Regions from separate parts of the Homo sapiens genome. Here region 1 is linked to region 2. Evidence: promoter capture Hi-C in human tissues and cell types (Jung and others, 2019). All regions are on one chromosome and are shown on one strand. Each heading gives the region's core, a stretch centred on a gene start or on the middle of the fragment in contact. The rest is flanking DNA. Distances are from core to core; before and after follow the strand shown. Region 1 overlaps STARD9 (StAR related lipid transfer domain containing 9). Region 2 holds the start of STARD9 (StAR related lipid transfer domain containing 9).

What was found. The method cuts DNA at HindIII sites, captures the fragments that hold promoters and counts their contacts. A contact is called where the count stands out against the background at its distance.
Region 1: a contact is called between a fragment that was not itself captured here and the fragment with the promoter of STARD9 in region 2, in 1 of the 25 tissues and cell types used here (bladder).

What each region holds. Positions count from the first base shown.
Region 1 is chr15:42,635,671-42,640,497 of GRCh38, forward strand. STARD9 (StAR related lipid transfer domain containing 9) reads left to right here. Exons shown (of 33, transcript NM_020759.3): 5 at 2,237-2,269; 6 at 2,356-2,417; 7 at 3,030-3,142. Among named protein-coding and RNA genes, the nearest start is that of STARD9, 62 kb to the left of the region's middle. The HindIII fragment of the contact is 7,138 bases long and covers 1-4,827 here.
Region 2 is chr15:42,572,015-42,577,002 of GRCh38, forward strand. STARD9 (StAR related lipid transfer domain containing 9) reads left to right here and starts at 3,592. Exons shown (of 33, transcript NM_020759.3): 1 at 3,592-3,748. The coding sequence starts at 3,702. It also overlaps the pseudogene MYL12BP1. RefSeq lists a silencer at 3,100-3,729. The HindIII fragment of the contact is 9,099 bases long and covers 319-4,988 here.

The sequences.
Region 1 (4,827 bases), core at 353-2,852, 62 kb after region 2:
CAGCTCCCTTTGACAAAGCAGTTCTTGTCAGTCCTGCTGAATTTCTACTTATCTCCAGGTTCATTATTTGGATCTGTTTTGCACCTTTGTTGTGGACAAGACCTGGACTAAATCTTAAGTGCATGCTAGAGCTGTGCAGAGATTTGATTATTGTGGCCAAGCTCCAAGCCTACATGTGTTAGATCTGTGTGTTGGAAGAAAGCAGGAGAACTAGCTCCTGAGTCAGGGGCTTTCAAAAGTATGCAGGATTTAATGAGAGGCTTCCTTTATCACAGAAAATCAGGAGGGCAGAGTTGCTTAAGAATACCTTTTTGTTTTGGGTTTAGAAATATCCTGGTCAGGGTGCCAGGTGTAGTAGCTCACACCTATAATCTCAACACTTTGGGGTGGCTGAGGCAGAAAGATCTCTTAAGCCCAGGAATTTGAGAACAGTCTAGGCAACATAGGGAGACTCCATCTCTACAAAAAATACAAAAGTTAGCTGGGTGTGGGGGCACATCCTGTGGTCCCAGCTACTTAGGAGGCTGAGGTGGGAGGATGGCTTCAGCCTGGGAGGTTGAGGCTGCAGTGATTAGCCATGATCTTGCCACTGTACTCCACCCTGGGCAACAGAGTAAGAGACCCTGTCTCAGCTGGGTGGGGTGGCTCATTCCTGTAATACCAGCACTTTGGGAGGCTGAGGCGGGCAGATCACAAGGTCAGGAGTTCGAGGCCAGCCTGGCCAATATGGTGAAACCAAGTCTTTACTAAAAATACAAAAATTAGCCAGACATGGTGGCGTGCGCCTGTAATCCCAGCTACTTGGGAGGCTGAGGCATGAGAATCGCTTGAACCCAGGAGGGAGAGGTTGCGGTGAGCTGAGATTGTGCCATTGCACTCCAGCCTGGGAAATGGGACGAGACTTTGTCTCAAAAAAATAAATAAAAAGAGACCCTGTCTCTAAAAGTATATATGTCCTGTTAGGTGGGTAACAAATAAACACTACACAGGGACATTCTATAGGACATGATTCCTCTTAGATGATTATCCCTGATGCCTTGGGCCTAGCTCATTGCTCGCTTTGTCCTGTGTTTAGTGTGATTTCATAGTATTTGACATTAAAAGAAGAATTGGGGCTGGGCATGTTGGCTCACACCTATAATCCCAGTACTTTGGGAGGCTAAGGCAGGCGGATCACCTGAGCTCAGGAGTTCAAGACCAGCCTGGCCAACGTGGTGAAACCCCATCTCTACTAAAAATACAAATTAGCCAGGTGTGGTGGTGGGTGCCTGTACTCCCATCTACTTGGGAAGCTGAGGCAGGAGAATTCCTTGAACTCGGGAGATGGAGGTTGCAGTGAGCCGAGATCATGCCATTGCACTCCAGCCTGGGCAACAAGAGTGAAACTCCATTTCAAAAAAATAATAATTAAAAAAAAAAAAAGAAATTGGCCACTAAACGAAAAGTATAAAGCCCTTAACCGAGTACAAGTTAGCACTGGATACAAGATGGGAAAAGAAACTACCTCTTTCTAAATGTGTTTTTTTGCTGTTGTTGTTTTTGTTGTTTTGTTTTGTTTTTGAGATGGGGTCTCACTCTGTTACCCAAGCTGGAGTGCAGTGGCACGATCTCAGCTCATTGCAGCCTCTGCCTCCTGGGTTCAAGTGATCCTCCCACCTTAGCCTCCCGATTAGCTGAGACCATAGGCACACGCCACCATGCCTGGCTAATTTTTTTGTATTTTTAGTAGAGACAGGGTCTCCGCAGGTTGCCCAGGCTTGTCTCTAACTCCTGAGCTCAAGTGATCCACCCACCTCGGCCTCCCAAAGTGCTGGGATTACAGGGGTGAGCCACCACACCTGGTCTAAATGTGTATTTTGAATACTCATATACTCTTGTCCGCCTGTAAGGACTGGAGGTATAGGGGGCTGGGGGAACATTGGTAAAGTGTTTTTATCCAAGAATAATGTAATCTTCATTGCATAAAAGCAGGTATCTGGGTTTGCCGGCTTCTCCTCTTTTCCTTCTTATGGTGATACATATTCCTCTCATTTGGTACATTTCTCCCATGAGTGTCTCTCAGAGCACTGGCACATAAAAGTCTTCTATATTCCCCAGTGAAACTGCCTGGAGTGAAGAGGCTAGCACAAGGAGTCCATGCACTCATCCCCCATGCTGAGGATGGTTCCTGGGTATTCTGTGGGGGAGAGCATCATCTTAAGTAAACAATAATGCTTTCCTTTCTTCTGTTCACCAGGCCTCTGTTGGGTTGACACCACGGATATGTGAGGTATAGACTATCTTTTGGCTGGATCCTCTCAAAGTAGGTCTCTCTACAATTCCTACAATGAAACCCCAACCCTCTGGTTTGTGCAGGGTCTCTTCGTCAGGGAGAAAGACTGTGCCTCACTGCCTTCCTCCTGTAGGATAAAAGTAAGGTAAGAACCTCCCAAGCTCTGGGACCTACAGTAGTTCTTCTTCTACTCCAAATTCTACCATGTTCAGCTGTCCTCTCTTTGCTTCCAGAGTCACCACAGGGATGGAGAAAAGCCACAGAAGAAATATCTTGCAGTACAAGAGCTGAGAAAGATACTTAGGCCCTTGGTTGTAGGAAACTTAATTTCCTACCCATAGACTTAACAAGCAGGTCTTTCCTTCTGTGGCCCAACTTACCCTGGCTGTCTAGTAGCCCTTGAGATGCCTTCACAGAACAATAGAGCTCAACGGTCATGTTTGAAATTCACTCAAGAAACAACCTCTGTGGCTGGGTGCGGTGAATCTGGGAGGCGGAGGTTGCAGTGAGCCAAGATTGTGCCACTGCACTCCAACCTGTGAGACAGAGCGAGACTCTGTCTCAAAAATAAAAAATACAAAAAACTCTATTGTATATGTATGGAAAGAGAATCAAGGGGGAACCTTGGCTTGATCATTGCCTTAGAGTGTCAGAAGTGGAGCTGGAACAAGAACTAAGACCTCCTGATTTTTAGCTCAATGTTGTTTCTACTTTTTTTCAAAATATAATTATGTTGCCTTTTTCTACTTAACTCTAGTTTTCTAGAAATCTATAATGAACGGGTGCGGGATCTGTTGAAGCAATCTGGTCAAAAAAAGTCCTATACCCTGCGGGTCAGGGAGCATCCAGAGATGGGGCCCTATGTACAAGGTGAGCTACTGTGGTCCTGGAGATCTGAAACCAAACTGAAGCCTGGGAAGCTCTCCTAATGTTCCCTAATTCATTGAACATAGGTGTAATGAACACTTATCGTGTGCCAGCTACTGTACTAGACACTGAATATGTATTGATAAATAGAGAAGACGTGGTCCTGCCCTCAGGCAAGCTTACAATCTAGTGGGTGTGAGTCAGGAAACAAACAATTACAAGTAGTGATAAAGGTTAATAAATAAATGGATGTCAATGGCAAAGAACGTTGGAAAGTGTTGGTGGCCCACCTGTATGAGGTGATCAGGAAGAGCTTCTCTGAGGAGGAAACGTTTAAGCTGAGACCTGAAAGGAGTATAGTCGTGTGAAGAATGACGTAACGTGGTGAGAAGTGTTTCAGGAAGAGGGAGTGGAATGGACTAGAGCCCTGGGAGAAGGCTTGATGTTTTCAAGGGGCCAGTGTGGCTAAAGCATGGTGAATGAGAGGGAAAACTGTAGGGAATGTGGTGGGGTCTGCAGGCGCCCAATATGGCATGGCCTCTACTGGTTCCCTGGTAAACCAGTCCCCTTTCTCTGCCATTGGTGGTGGTAGTCAGACATCAGACATGGGGTAGGATTTGATGTGTTTCCTAACCAAATACTGGTGTTTGGTGCTTGGTACCATCTGTCTTATATCATTAAGGTAGGTCCTGCTATTAAGTAGCAACAGATGGGTTCTTTTATAGGCGAAGTTTTTACCCTTCCAGGCCACTTATAAGAAGTAATATATGGCCCAGGTGCAGTGGCTTACGCCTGTAATCCCAATGCTTTGGGAGGCTGAGATTGGTGAATTTGCTGGAGGTCAGGAGTTCGAGAGCAGCCTGGCCAACATGGTGAAACCTTATCTCTACTAAAAATACAAAAGATTAGCTGGGTGTGATGGCACATACCTGTAATCCCAGCTACTCGGGAGGCTGAGGCAGGATAATCACTTAAACCTGGGAGGCAGAGGTTGCAATGAGTCGAGATTGCGCAACTGCACTCCAGCCTGTGCGACAGAGCAAGACGCCATCTCAAAAAAAAAAAAAAAGTAATGTATATTTTATGTTCCTGTAGCAGTATGCTAGTTTATTTTTTATTTTTATTTTTTTAGCCACAAGGTCTTATTCTGTCACCCAAGCTGGAATGCAGTGATGCAAACATAGCTCACTGCAACCTGAACTCCTGGGCTCAAGTGATCCTTCCGCCCCAGTCTCCCAGGTAGCTAGGGCTACAGGTGTGCATCTAGGCAGCGGATTTTTAAATTTGCTGTAGAGATGGGATCTCACTATGTTGCCCAGGCTGGTCTTGAACTCCTGGCCTCAAGTGATCTTCCCACCTCAGCTTCCTAAAGTACTAGGATTATAGATGTGAGCCAGCGTGCTTGGCTGTAGTATGCTAATTTAAATCCTGATAAGGAGCGGGACATGAACATCAAGAGCCGGTCTTTTCTCTGGTCAGGGCATGGCAAATGGATGACGCAATAGGTATGCTAGTGACTGATTCTGCTACCTATGTCTTTTCCCAAATGTTTAATCATAAATAGCAGCCTAGAAACAACAACAAAAACACCATTTCCTTTGCTAGGAACCAGTTTAAGTTTGCTCTGTAAAACTCTGTGGGTATACATATCTGTGTAAAGCAATACTTTCAAGGCAGACCATGAGTTG
Region 2 (4,988 bases), core at 2,342-4,841:
AGATTCAGGAGTTCAAAGAGGCCTTCAACATGATTGATTAGAACAGAGATGGTTTCATCAACAAGGAAGATTTGCATGATATGCTTGCTTCTCTAGGGAAGAATCCCACTGATGCATACCTTGATGCCACGATGAATGAGGCACCAGGGCCCATTAATTTCACTATGTTTGGTGAGAAGTTAAATGGCACAGATCCTGAAGATGTCATCAGAAATGCTTCTGCTTGCTTTGATGAAGAAGCAACAGGCACCATTCAGGAAGATTACCTGAGAGAGCTGATGACAACCATGGGGGATCAGTTTACAGATGAGGAAGTGGATGAGCTGCACAGAGAAGCACCTATTGACAAAAAGGGAAATTTCAATTACATCGAGTTCACAAGCATCCTGAAACATGGAGTAAAAGACAAAGATGACTGAAAAGAACTTTAGCTAAAACCTTCCAATTACATTGTCTTACTCTGTTTTATTTCTCACACACTTCCCCCACCCTCATAGAACCTGTTGCATGCAACTTAGTTTCACAGCTTTGCCTTTTTTTAAAAATGTATTTATTCCAGACCTTTCTGCCACTTAGCACTTGTATAATCAGACTGGAAATGGTGATGACGCCATAAATTGTATTGAAAAAGAGATCGCCAATAAAAATCAACAAATGTGAAAGCCCCCCCAAAAACATAACTCTATAAACTAGTACGTACTGTACTACTGTAATTTTGTAACTGCCTCCTGTTTTAGTGAGTCAAGTGTTGCCAGCATCTGCTTAAAACTCTGTGATGCTAATCATCATAGCAGTTCCTCTCTTCAGTAAACTGTGTATCACAATAAAAAGTGATCTCTTGAGGTTCTTGGGTGTTTTTCACCGTATTCAGTGCAATATCATAAGCCTTGAATAACATCAGGGGACCAGTACCAAGTGCCACTAGTGATGCTGGAAGTGCTCCCAAGAAGCAGAGAAAAGTCATGACATTACAAGAAAAAGCTGAATTGCTTGATATGTACTATAGATCTGCAGCTGTGGTTGCCTACCATTTCATGATAAATGAATCCATTGTAAGGACCATTGTAAAATTTAAAAAAATTGTGCAGCCATGACCACAGCTACACCAGGAGGCACAAAAACCTTGAGCTTTTTGTGAAATACCTTTTTATAGTTTATTTTTATTTTTTAATTTGTGTAGAGATGAGGTCTCACCATTTTGCCCAGGCTGGTCTCAAACTACTAGGCTCAAGCAATACTCCTACCTTGGCCTCCCAAAGTGCTGGGATTACAGGCGTGAGCCACTGTGCCCGGCCCTGAAATGTCTTTTTATCTCATATTGAAAATGCAGCTTTTGGCAAGGTGCAGTGACTCATGCCTGTAATCCCAGCACTCTGGGAAGCCGAGGTGGGCAGATCACCTGAGGTCAGGAGTTTGAGACCAGCCTGGCCAACATGGTGAAACCCCATCTCCACTGAAAATACAAAAATTAACCAGGCATGGTGGTGCACAGCTGTAATCCCAGCTACTCGGGAGGCTGAGGCAGAAGAATCGCTTGAACCCAGGAGGCAGAGGTTGCAGTGAGCTGAGATAGTGCCACTGCACCCCAGTCTGGGCAACAGAGCAAGACTCTGTCTCAAACAACAACAACAACAACAAAACAACCAAAAACACACAACAACAACAACAAACAGAAAATGAAGCTTTTATGTGGGTACAGGATTGCTGTAAGAAAAACATACCTGGCCAGCGTGGTGGCTCACACCTGTAATCCCAACACTTTGGGAAGCAGAGGTGGTCAGATTGCCTGAAGTCAGGAGTTCAAGACCATTCTGGCCAACATGGTGAAACCCCGTCTCTACTAAAAATACAAAAAAATTAGCTGGGTGTGGTGGCACACGCCTGTAATCCCAGCTACTCGGGAGGCTGAGGCAGGGGAATTGCTTGAACCAGAGAGTTGAAGGTTGCAGTAAGCCAAGATCGCGCCACTGCACTCCAGCCTGGGCGACAGAGTGAGACAACATCTCAAAAAAAAAAAAAAAAAAAAAAAAAAAAAAAAGGAAAACATACCTATCTATATACCTATATACTCTTAATATGATTTGAGAACAAGCAAAGTCATTATATGACAACTTGAAGCAAAAGGAAGGTGAAGGATCCAAACAATTTTATGCCAGTAAGGGATGATTTGATAAATTTGGAAAGGTTTGGTTTAAAATATGTCAAGATAACAAGAGAAGCAGCTTCTGCTGACCAAGAGGGAGCAAATGAGTTCCTAGACACCATTAAGGAAATAATTGAGAAGAAAGGGTATCTGCCTGAACAGCTTTTCGGTGCATATGCAAGTTCCCTATTCTGGAAAAATAAATGCCACAAAGGACATTTATTAGTAAGGAAGAGAAGCAAGCACCAGGATTTAAGGCAGGAAGGGATACGCTAATATTTTGTGCAAATGCAGTTGGGTTTATGATCAGCACTGCCCTTATCTATATGGCTGCTAACCCTCAAGCCTTGAAGGGAAAAGATAAACACCAGCCACCTGTCTTTTGGTTGTACAAGAAGACCTGGACAATAACCCTTTATCTGAATTGGTTCCATCTATGCTTTGTCCCTGATGTCAGGAAGTACCTTGCCAGTAAGGGACTGCCTTCTATTTTTTTATTTTATTTTTTTTAGACAGGGTTTTGCTCTGTCGCCCAGGCTGAAGTACAGTGGCGCGATCCAGGCTCACTGCAGCCTCCGCCTCCAGGGTTCAAGTAATTCTCCTGCCTCAGCCTCCCGGGTAGCTGGAATTACAGGCGCACGCCAACAGGCCCGGCTAATTTTCGTATTTTGAGTACAGACGGGGTTTCACCAGGTTGGTCAGGCTGAACTCGAACCCCTGACCTCAGGTGATCTCGCTTCAGCCTCCCAAAGTGCTGGGATTACAGACGTGAGCCACTGCACCCGGCCTGCCTCGAAAATTTAACCACAGAATTGACAGTTCAAGCGAACGCAGAGAATAAAAGTATTTAGCAAATTACTTTGCAAACTTTCGGACCAAAAGTTGATTTACTTGACTTTACATAGCACGGACACCTAGTCGAGGAACAAAAACTATTTCTGGGTAAGCGGGGCCAGGAACAACAGACTTAGCACTGAGTCCTCGCGGCCCACTCGGCTCAGGATTGGCTGAAGCTGGGCCGGCACTGCTGGGCCCGGTGCGGCACGCGCATGGGTGGGGGCGTCCCAAGAGGCTGTAGGGCGGAGCGAGGCGGGGCGAGCCCGGGCGTCCTCCCGCCCACCGACTAGCCAAGGCTCGGCGGGCACCACCCAGCTCGGGATGCAGCGCGTGTTTGGGCGGGGGCGACCCGGGAGGCTTCGGATGGAACGAGGCGGAGCGAGCCCTGGCATCCTCCCGCCCACCAGGCTAAGGACTGGCCGAACGTCCACACGGGCCCGCCTGCTCTGGCTGCGGCGCGTGTTTGGGCGGGGGCGAGTCAGGAGGCTTTAAGGAGGATTGAGGGGAGGCGGGGCCGGGAGTTCTCCCGCCCACCGGGCTCAGGATTGGCCGAAGCTAGGCAGGCACCGCCCCGCTCGGGCGGCAGCTCGCGTCCGCGCGGCGGCGTCCCCAGAGGCGCGTGGGGCGGGCGGGGCTGGGTTGGGGCTGTGTCTGGGCTTAGGGCGGGGGCCTGGGATGCTGCCGCTGAGCTGACCCGCTGGACTTGGGTTGTGGCAGACGGATGGCGAACGTGCAGGTCGCCGTGCGGGTCCGGCCGCTCAGCAAGAGGTGAGTCTCCGCGGGAGAGGGCGCCTGAGGCTTCACAGGAGCTGAAAAGAGCGGGAGGTCCGCGTCTCCCCCTGCAGAGATTCTGGCGCGCAGAAATCGGTGACAAAGTGACCCGGGGGGTCGGGGTCCGGAATCCACGGAGGCCTGGCGGGACGGGACCTCAGTCGAGCTTTCGCGTTGTGTCCTGGGGATAGCGGTTCCCGGACGGCCGCGGGAGGGCTGCCCTGGGTGAGCGTCGCTGGCGTCCTGCCAGCAGGAGTTTCGAGGGACGGCGGCTCGAGGCTTGCTGCATCGGGTTGGGCCTTTGAGAAAGGCTGGGAGAGGGATGAGCATTCTCCTCTCTCTTTCTGGGGGCTTGGGAGTACCCATGAGGACTGAGGCTGAATGGTGTGTGTTTCTGGGTGCGCGTGGGCTTCTCTGCGAAGATGTGGAGAAAGCAGAAGGTGAGGGCGTGAGGGGGAAATTGAGGCCGACACAGGTCGCGGTTTCTTTCTATGCTCGACAGCTGATTTAATCCAGGACGGAACTGTTAAGTAGGGGAAGTTGTTCCAACCCCTTCTTTCTCTCAGAGCCCTCAGTGCCCGTTTTCTCGTGGCTTATTTTGATTCCGCACCTCTCATCTCAGCCCTTGAGACATCCAGTGTGCAGCCACGAACTTTTTTCTCTTTGTCACCAGATGAAGTGTTTTTTAAAGATCAATTAGAGTTTGTTGACAGGTGGAGAGAGTTTAAAGAGCCTTCTATGTAGTAAGACCGCCAAGAGCAAAGGACTTAGACTGTAAGGGACTAACTAGAGGTTAAGTTTTGGTGGGGAAAGGGTGGTTGGTGTGGAGGGAAGTGAGTGGTGGAAGGTAAATCTGGCAGAGGGTGCTTTGGGGACCAGGAGGCACATGTTGGAATTATTTGGCAAGTTTAAAAATCTCTGGGACATAAGATAGCTTGATAATTGGGCAGAAGGATCAAGAAAGGTATCGTCTCCCATAATAAAATTGGGTACTAGTGTGGATTATGTTCGTCCTCATATAGAAATGATTGGCTTTGAAAAGTCTTGTAATTGACAGACTAATGAGAAGAGCAATGAGATAGAAAGAAACAAAAAGTTAAAGAGAATAGGAAGAAGGCAAAAGAGGTACACTGAAGAAAGAGGGAAAGCAGATGCCTGACCTGCTGCGTTTTGATTGGTAAATGGCTTGTGACACCTGGCTTCTTCATAACTGGATGTGGTAGCTCAGGGCTGGGGG